Regions from separate parts of the Homo sapiens genome. Here region 2 is linked to region 1. The links are contacts of gene promoters, found by promoter capture Hi-C in blood cells and fetal thymus (Javierre and others, 2016). All regions are on one chromosome and are shown on one strand. Each heading gives the region's core, a stretch centred on a gene start or on the middle of the fragment in contact. The rest is flanking DNA. Distances are from core to core; before and after follow the strand shown. Region 1 holds the start of QTMAN (queuosine-tRNA mannosyltransferase). Region 2 has its middle 870 kb from the start of LINC01966.

Region 1 (4,858 bases), core at 1,291-3,790:
ATTGTTAAGAAGTCTTCCCTTAATTTACATGGATTATTTTCCATCTTAAAATTGGTAATTTACAATCGAATCCTTCGTTAGTAGTGTTGAATTATCATTTTGTGTTTCATATTTTACCTTCCCGGTGATGCTGTAATTTTCTTGGCAATAGGGTCTTAATAATTCTTACAATTAGGCAAAGACCTTGTCACCACCGAGGATGAATGCATTTGGTTGGTTCATGGCTCCGGAGGTCTGGCCAGAATTGCCTGGATCATGCAGATGAACCCTGACTGAGATGAAAGTTGTGCAACAGGAATCCTTGAAACCAGTGGGACAAAACAGCTTCGACAGAAATACCTTCCTAGCTAATGCCAAGTGCAATTTTATACATCACTCAGACCATGTAGGCAAAGCTGCAAAGTCAAGGAATTTTGATGTTGAATAGCTTTATATAAGTGTTAAATATTAACATGAGCCAGATGCTGGCAGGTATGTGAGACAGAAAGTCTGAGTTTGAACCCTGGCTTTGTTTCCAATTAAGCTGGGTAATATTGGGTAAACAACTTACCCTCTCTGGGCTTCAGTTCTTAATCAGATTAAAAAAGATTTAAAAATTTTTTTCATTTTAAAATGAAAGGATTAGACTCCCAATTATTTTAAGAACCAGTTTAATTATAAAATTATGTAATTCTATTTTTAAAACAATGAAATGGCAGCCATAAACTTTAGGATTTTTCAGATATTGTGGTTCGATTTAGAATTTTTCCATTTTACAATGGGTTTATCTGGATGTAACCCCATGGTAAGTTGAGCAGCTTCTTATGACTTATGATGGGGTTATGGTTTCTACTGAATGCACATACATTTCATACCATCCTAAAGTTGAAAATATTGGAAGTCGAGGACCATCTGCTGTGTTGCTAGCATTAAATGCAATTTTGGCTTACAATATTTTTAACCTACATTGTGTTTATTGGGAAGTAACCCCATCGTAAGTGGAGAAGCATTTTGTATTTTATTCTGTGTAATAGGATTTACTAGTTTCATGTGTAGTCAGAACACTCACTTTCAGGTTTTGGCATTTACTCTTTTCTGTTTCTCAATTTGTGTGAAAGTGGATGGACAGATGGTTTATTAGGCTTTCAAATGCTTACAATGCTGTTGTTCAATTCAACAATGGTTTTAAACTTTGAATGTCCACACAGAGCTGGATTTTGTTTGGAACGGAAGATAGTTTCGACGCTTCAATTTAAGGATAAGAATGTTTACTCACATAACTTAAAGCAACTTGTGGATATAAGTACAAAGACCTAATCGATTTCCTTTATTTTGGTATGTTTCCTAATTCATTTCCACATCACAGCCTAACTCTTCCGAGTTGCAGTTTTAAAAATGAAGTTACTTAATAAACCAGACATCCAGTTATATTTGCATGTTTTGCCTTCACCAGAGTCATTTAACCTACAACCTCCTTCCAGATACAAAAACCTTTACTTTAGAAAGGATCCTTTACTTCATAAAGGAATTTAACGAAGGGACACATTCCTCACTTTACAGTCAAGAACACCTGGGACTTCCTGGTACTCTTTCTACTATGTATTCTATAAATAAAAGAGCTAAAGTGAAATTAGGTCGCAGCGAAAAAACATCCAACATTTGTGAATTTTAAGCCCCAACAGAAAATCCCATTCCTTGAAATTCAAGTGGCAATGAGAATATTATTGCATAAGGAAAATATAGATGGAACTATGCAAGTCAAATGATGGTCTCCACTGCTGTCGCTTTGCTTTGTGATTTTTAATTACTCAATGTGACTCTCCTCGTGTAAATGGGACCGCGAATATGCAATTATTGAATACTCAAACTGCATCAGAAGTGTGTGGAGTAGTCAGAACCGAAAGGACGGGAAAAATGGAGATAAAGGAAAGCATGAGCCTTGCCAGGAGGGAATCGAGGAGGTCCAGAAGGAGGGATATTAAGAGGCATTGGCAAAGCAGCTGTGGAGGAGCTCCGGGCTGCAGAGCAGGTAGAGGTGTCGGCAAGGGAGCCAGGAACCCGCACAGGGGCCCTGAGGCTCTAGTAGGCCGGGGAGTGGACCAGGAAAGGAGATGCAACGGGCCGGCTGGAAAACTGCACGGGGAATCCGAGGTCGACCTAATGAACAGCACAGACCTTCCAGAAGGAAAGAGAAGGTGACTATGCGAGCTTAGAACAGGACTAGGAGGTTGGGGAAAGAGTACGAAAAAGCTGAAAGGGCGGACAGGGTGCTGACGAGATGGGAAAGGGCGCACAGGGAGGTGGGGAGCAGTGCGAGGCCGGGGGACAGTGGGCAGGTGCGAGGAGCCGAGCCCGCGGGCTGGGGCGGAGCGATTCGCGCGGGCGGGAGCGCCGCTGACTCAGGGACCTCGCGCCAGCGGAGTCCGGGCGGCGCAGAGAGGCGGAGCCTCGATTGCGCGGGCGGGCCGAGGGGCGGGACCAGCGCCTGACGCGCCCGGAGGCCGAGGCGGCCGCGGGCCGGGAGGGGCGGCGGCATCCGCGGCGGCCGCGGGGGAGGGGCACGGCGTCAGCGCGTCGCCGGCTGGGCCGCGCCGGTGGCCAGGAGGGAGAGACAAGGAGGAGGAGGAGGAGGAGGTGAGTAGGCTCCGGGCTGGGGAGCCGCGCGGGCCAGCGGGGAGGCGGGGAGCGCGGCCCCTCCCCTCCCCTCCCCGGCGCCCGCCTCGCGGGGCCGCGCTGCGCGGAGATCCCAGAGGGGCAGCAGCGGCGGCTGCGGCGCGGGGAGCCGGGGGCGGGGGGTGTGGGGGAGGCGGAGCTGAGAGCCGCGCGCTTCCCGGGCGCACGCGCTGCGCTCCCTGCGCCGCCGTCCGCACCGCGCTCGGAATGGGGCGTCACGCCGTGGCATTTTGTGCCTTCTGCAAACTGGTCGTGTTCGAATTGCGTTTTTTTGGTGCCTACATGTCGTGCGTGCTGGTTTTCTGCGGCCCGGCGCTCCGCTTCTTCCTCGCGCAGGCTGAGAGGACGGGTGGGGGCACGTCGCCCTCGCGCGGGAGAAGGGAGGCCGGGCGTCCGGGTTGGCCTGAGTTGGCTGGGGTGCTTCGCCGACCACCAGGCTGCCCGGCGCTTGGCCCCTTGCAGTGCGAGCCCCAGGCCTTCCTGACGGAAAGCTTCGCTTCTGGCTCCTAGTCGCCCTCAGTTACCAGACCTCCCCAGCGCCCCACTCCTCTCTGCCAGCCGAGTGTGAAGACCCTCACTGTGCCCCCCACCCCGGAATCCCTCGTCTGAGGATTAAGCACATAACTTCCCATTTTCATCGGGATCCAGACAATCCCATTCTGTCCAGGTGGAAAGATTCTCTGAATTTAAGTCTTGGGAATGCAGCAGCGAAATTTAACCTTTAGTCCCGAAGTAGTTTTTTTGCCTTCTCTCGCACATACAACTTTTAGAGTCTTCTGACAACTGTGCTGCTTTAGGTTATCTTGAGATTCTTAAGTTAATGCCTTGAGGCCGTGTGATGGGAGTTTCAAAGAGAAGGCTTTTACAGCTTTTCTTCCACCTGTATCGCAGTTTGAAATGGAAAACGTGAGTTGATGATGATTTTCCATACGAGATGGATTTCAGTTTGCAGCCCCGGCTGCCGTGGCTCACTTGGTTATTTGGTGCCTACCCCTGAAGTTGATTTTAAAGCTTAAAATAGTGGTTAGGTAAAGGAGCTGCTGAAAAAGAAGTTCAGTACAATTCAATAGAGCCATTCTATTGGCTTCTATTAACGTGTTTAACCTTAAGCTTTAACCATGACAGGAGTTTCATGTAGGAACCCACATACCAAGTGAAATATTGAATTTTAATTAGTGCGTTCCAGGTCTGACTTGGATTAGATTCTTCTCGGCTCCCACTCCCTTTTGGTATACATTTTCCTTAGGGTCCTGTACTGTATTTAATGAAACAGTTTTAGTATTGAGGATTAGAGGAGTACCTCTTGAATCACGAAACTTTCTTTGACATGCTTGAAAACAATGAATAGGTAAAATCTGAAGCATGATACTTGCAATAAGGTAGGAAATAGTAAATTTTTTAACATCACCAGTTTGCAAAGGTTAAGATGGCTTCTTTAGTCTTGATTTGAAAATTGTGTTGGCATTTTAATCTTATGCATCACAGAAATACAGAATTTTCGATGTTTAAGGAACATTAACAGTATAATCCAATCCCATTATTTTATAGAGAAATTAAGAATCGAAGACAGTTTCTTGATGAGATTTAGCAGGAGCTGAATAGAACTAGTAGTCTTCATTAACTAAACACTTAACTAGGTAATTCAGACCTCTTGTACTAAAGTTTGTTTGATTATGGTACTAAAGTTTGTTTGATTATGGTATCTTAAAAAGCCAAGTAATTAAATGAAATTTTTTTCCTTAATTTATGATTTGGACCCATTAGATTAAAATGCCATGAATTGTACATAGTTAGGAAGTATTTACATTCTGTGAGTTTAAACATTACTTTCCAGTGTTTTTGAATTAGCAATTATCTTGCGCTTCAAGAATCGATTCATATTTTTGATTCGGATAGCCTACGTCACTTCCAGCAGATTGGTATTTTAAGAGTCTTAGAGTTATGGTGTATATAAACCGTGGTTTAGTCATGTGTCATTTAATGACAGGTATGTTCTGAGAAATGTGTACTTGTGGGAGCATCATAGAATGTACTCACACAAACCTACATGGTATAGCCTACTTCACACCTAGGCTATATGGTATATAGCTTATTAGTCCTGGGCTACATCCCTGTTCAGCATGTTACCGTACTGAATACTGTGCCTAAACACACCTAAACTTAGAAAGGGTACAGTAAAAATACGGTATTATAATCTTATGGGACC
Region 2 (4,858 bases), core at 1,057-3,556, 1.4 Mb before region 1:
ACTAGGATTCTAGGATTCTCTGAATAACAAAATCAATTACTAGTTGGATTCATCTAAGAAAAGGCAGAAAATGGATGGCACACAAAGAACCACTGGCCCAGGCCCTGCAGGTGATGCTGGAAGTGGGGGTGGTGCCATGGGCTGAGTCCACTGCTGTCAGAGTGAGGAGCAGAGCCTGATGGCTTAGCGGAAGGGTAGATCATTGGCATCAAGTCATTCCATTAGCCATAGTGCTTTTCCATATTTCCAGCAAAAATGTAGACGACTGTGCTTCCTAAACAAAACAAGAGAATGCAAAGGTAAAAAGCAGACAAATAGTCTTGGAAATGAAATGAAAACAAAAACCAAGTAAACAAAAATCCAGGAAATCTAAGAGGAATAAATGTAGAGCTGGAAGTAGTAAATCAGAAACAAATGGAAACATAGTGCTGTGTTTTCCATTACCCACTTTAACCGAACTCTATAGTTAAAACTTTTCATCCAGTATCTTAGCAATGTGGTAAGAACCTGTAATTGGTTTATTACTGAAAATCAATGCTGTTAAAAACCCCCTTGTCTGAAAAGGAAATCTAAATATAAGACTGATACAAATGGGTCTTTATATAATTGTATTTCTTAATTGATGATACATAATGTAATTCTTTATTGGGAAGGGGCTTCACCTGCCTCTAGGGAAGGGGTGTTGGTTGGAGAGACAGAGTGAAGCATGTGTAGGTTGCAGCCCCGGGCCCAGGGACTGACAGGTAGCTGTGTGAAAGGCCTCAGATCCTTTCCGGAGGCACCTAGTCCCCACTCCAGCTCCTCCCCCTCTTTAACCACAGCTCCAGAGCAAGTTTGTCTCTGCACATAGAGACTGGCCTCCGGCTGTAGCAGGTTGCAGGAACTGCCAATGTAGTGCATTGTTCTTGAGTTTCCACAGTCCTTCCTTCTCTATCTCCATCCTTTTACAGCAAGCATTTCTCCTCTTGTAAACAAACAAACAAACAAAAAGAAAGCAGTAATTATTTTTTCAAACACTTTCCTAATATAAGTTCTGGAAACATCTGCCTTCTTTCTACACTTTGTAAGCACAGGTTTGGGGTCCAGCAAGCGGTATTTTAAAAGGGCCATGATTATCTGGTACTAGAAACAGCAGCAGCAGCTCCTAATTCAGATCTTTTAAATCGGTCTTCTCAGAATACATACATTTGGAGTATTTGAAAACTTGGTCCTCTGAGGCCTGTTCCTTCTTCTCCCTGGATCTTACCTTTAAATGGCTGAAGATATAATGCCTCAGAGACTTAAGGTGAGTGGAGATAGATTTGCTAGGTCCCAGAGTAATCAGAAAGGCAAAATAGCTTTGTAACTCTGTCTCTCTCTGCATTATTCCCTGAAGAGCAGCTGCAGCAGAGTGTGGACCCCGTGTTTGCACATGGCAGAAACTGGGCTGCCTCACATTTAAGGCCTAAGTTAGCCAACTTGTCAATGAATGCCATTAGTGCAGACGGGCCACAGGCACTCAGGGATGGAGTGGCAGGCAAGCTCAGATCAGCTAAGGAAGAGCAGGCATCGGGTGGTAACAACTTTCAGTCATTACTGACCTGGGCTCTATTCAAACCAGTGACCTAGAAATGAAGGGCTCCAAATCCCATTACTAATTCCCCGAGCCATCAAGTCTCCCCTATGGCCTGGATCTTGTCCTGAAACCCAGGTCTCCTGTTGAAATAGCATTAAGACAGCAGCCACTGCGTTGGCAGGCAAGGTTTTTAAAATAAAGGGAGGGGAGGGAATGTGCACGTAGAGAGTTGGCTTTAATTATTACTTTAAAGTTTTTCAGCTCCTTTCAACCTAAAAACCTGAACCTTCTTTAAAGTCACATGCTTGCCAGCCAGCACAAAAATGGTGTTCAAACAAGCACAGCTTTTTTATTTTGTTTGAATGGTGAAAATACACAAGCCCCCTCCCAAATCAAGGAATAATGAGAGGAAACCAAATGAGAGGAAGTTGTTGGAAAGCAAAGAAAGAGATTAAATGAGTATTGCGAGGACAAGAATATTTACTGCCAAAATAAGAAAAGGAGCTAAATGAAAGCACCCTTAAGCCGCGTTCTTCCTCACTTCTTATCTCTCTGTCACTCTCTGAATCCCTCTCATCAAAGAGGGACAATTATTTTTAAGTAAAAATGTGGGATTTTTGTCAGTGAGGTGAAGCCCATGCAAAGTGAGCTGGATTAAAAACTGCATGTAAAGTTCTGTCTCGTGTTTTAAGCCAAAAGCTCCAACTTTACAAACTGTCCTGTAGATGGGGCTGTACTCTGCAATTCTAAGATCACTGCCTCAACAATGAAGCAATTGTTTCCTGTCTCCACTTAGCAATTCCTCCCTCTCTTTCAGTTCTTTCTGCTTGCATGTTCTATTTATTTTAATGTATACCTTTGTGTAGAGCCTGTCTCTGAGTGGTTAGATACCCCGTTGATATGTGGCCTTCAAGGGGGAAAAGGGAGTGCAGCCTATTCCCATGACATCCTAAGGCTTTGTAGAGCCAAAAAAACCTTCTCAGGAACACCTAATCCTTGGGCTCTGTCCAAGTACCACAATCTCTCTGTACAACTGACATGGGCCACTTGGGACACTTGAGAGTTTTAGGTGTGTCTCTCTGAAGTCAGCCCCGGCCAAGCATGAGGCAAATGTGCCCGACCAAAGAAAATAAATTATGTGGACTCCAATTTTCAGCAGTTATGAAGTATTGAATTACACATGCAAAGAATTCACTTTGGGATTAACCCTTTGGAACCGAAACACAATCTTGTCACAATGCCTGAGAAGGGAGCATGCTCTGAGTGAGGCCTGACTTTCCAAAGACACAGAGGTTGCTGACCAGGAGACAGAGATGCTCAATGCAATAAGAATGGAGATAAATGCAAATGTCTTATGTGGGCATGGAAGAGGGTATATGTCGGGGTTCTGCCCTGTCTCTGGATAGGCTGTTGCTGGCATTGTAAAGTTTAAGGATTCACTGCAAAGGCCACTTCAGCACTTAACGGGAATGCATCTTAGCATAATTCACACAGTCCCTGTGGCTGCTTCTTCATTCAGATTTAGAGAAGTGGTTGAAAGCCACTGGAACTTGACTGAAATCACAACTACAGAACCCCTGAAACGGCATTCATCCTCCATGACTCATTGAGCGATAGAAAAGGACATCCTGTCCTACCCCTTTAAGAATTCCTAGTTCCCCATAACCGTCTGAAGCACTAAGCTGTGAGTACACGACATAGCTGAAATTTAACACATAAACCCTGGAGTAGAAAAACAAAACAAGGCCATTTGTTTTCCCCTATAAAGCTATTTATTTACCAAATGACCATAGAAAGCAAACCTCCAACAATAACAGGAAACAATCAATCTTGAAAAACTTAGGGAAAAATTTTTTTGGAGCAAAGTTAACTTTTTAATAAAGTAGGTGTCTTGGGTATGCAAAGCAGGATGTCAGGAAACAGGCAACCTTGCCCCTCTTCCCCTCAGGTTATTATCAGAAAATGTGTGATCTACAGGAGGGACACTGTTTTGGGACTGATAAGCTGTGTCTACATAAAGATCCCTCACTTATTTCACATGTGCCCTGGAGGAAATAGAACTGTACAACGATATCCCTGGGAGACACTGTGGACCTCATCCACTGCCCTCATATTATCCAATGAAGAAACTGAGTTGCTCAAAGTTGCAACAGATACAGCTAAAAGCAGTAGGACATTTTATGTAACTTATTTCTAAAACAACAAATCTCTAATCAGAGAAATATCTCTATGTCTCAGTTGCTCTTGCCTGTTCAGAGGGATGATAACTATCTTTTCAAGTACTTGCTATTTTGAGTTATATGGAATATTTTGAGACACATGTAGAGATCTGCTAAAATGATTTGAGTGATAATAACTGGGTGTATGTGTGTTAATATGTGAGAAAAAAGAGAAAGAAATGAATGAGAGGGAGAGATAAAGACAGGGAAATAGATGAAGTTTCTGACATCATATGATTGTTGGGTGGAGTAACTAATAAAAGTAATTGCTAAGCACGGTGAAATTAGACTGCTGTGTAAAGCTAAACCAGGATGAACCAAAATTTGCAAATATCATGAGACTTTTATTTTCAACAGGTGGCATTTTAGAATGCAAACTAGTAGCATGCAAGTGAGAGCGCGCTGTAAAGGGGAAGAGATGTGGGGATTTACACACTTAGGAAATCGGGGTGACTAGAAAACAATGTTTTATGTTTGCAGTCTTACAGATCCACTTATTGAGAGGAATGGCTGATTAGAAATATGCTTAGAAAATGCTTCTCTTATTTTTACTGGCAGAGGGTTAACGTAGGTTTCTACTTACAAGGTAAGAAAATCTGCTGTGAAAGGAAAAAGCCAACTGACACTGCTTGTGGACAAATGTGTGTGAGCCAAAAACTGAAATGAGGCAGGCAATAAAACCATATCAAAGCCCACCCGTTGCCCCTATCACAATATTCTTACCAAATTGTCTTGCCTTTATCAGGCCCACCCTCACTTATTTACTGAGATAAGAAAGAACTTTTTTGCTGGCAAGCACCCCAAGTTTGATTTATCATTCACAATAGGAAGACTCTGCCAAGTAAGCCTTCATAATTCCCAGCCCTTAAAATTATTATCATCATTGGGTTTAAAAATAAGGCCAGAGGTGGTGGATGTGTACGCAGTATGACTGGAAAGAAGCTGGTTTGTTGAGGCTGGTTCTCTCTGCCAAAAAAGTATCATAAAAGAGGTGCCTAGTTCATGTCAGACCTAAGGAAATATTTTCCCCAAGCTGTTTGCAGATAGCACGGGGTTTGTGTAGTGTGACAGTTGTCCTAAGAAT

Evidence for each region. The method cuts DNA at HindIII sites, captures the fragments that hold promoters and counts their contacts. A CHiCAGO score of 5 or more calls a contact.
Region 2: a contact is called between a fragment that was not itself captured here and the fragment with the promoter of QTMAN in region 1, in 1 of 17 cell types (M0 macrophages). The highest score is 5.2, in M0 macrophages.

What each region holds. Positions count from the first base shown.
Region 1 is chr2:144,330,194-144,335,051 of GRCh38, reverse strand. QTMAN (queuosine-tRNA mannosyltransferase) reads left to right here and starts at 2,540. Exons shown (of 12, transcript NM_001376312.2): 1 at 2,540-2,613. RefSeq lists an enhancer at 1,907-2,484 and a silencer at 2,266-2,865. The HindIII fragment of the contact is 4,019 bases long and covers 1-3,145 here.
Region 2 is chr2:145,750,094-145,754,951 of GRCh38, reverse strand. No RefSeq gene overlaps it. Among named protein-coding and RNA genes, the nearest start is that of LINC01966, 870 kb to the right of the region's middle. RefSeq lists an enhancer at 2,868-2,917. The HindIII fragment of the contact is 6,682 bases long and covers 1-4,858 here.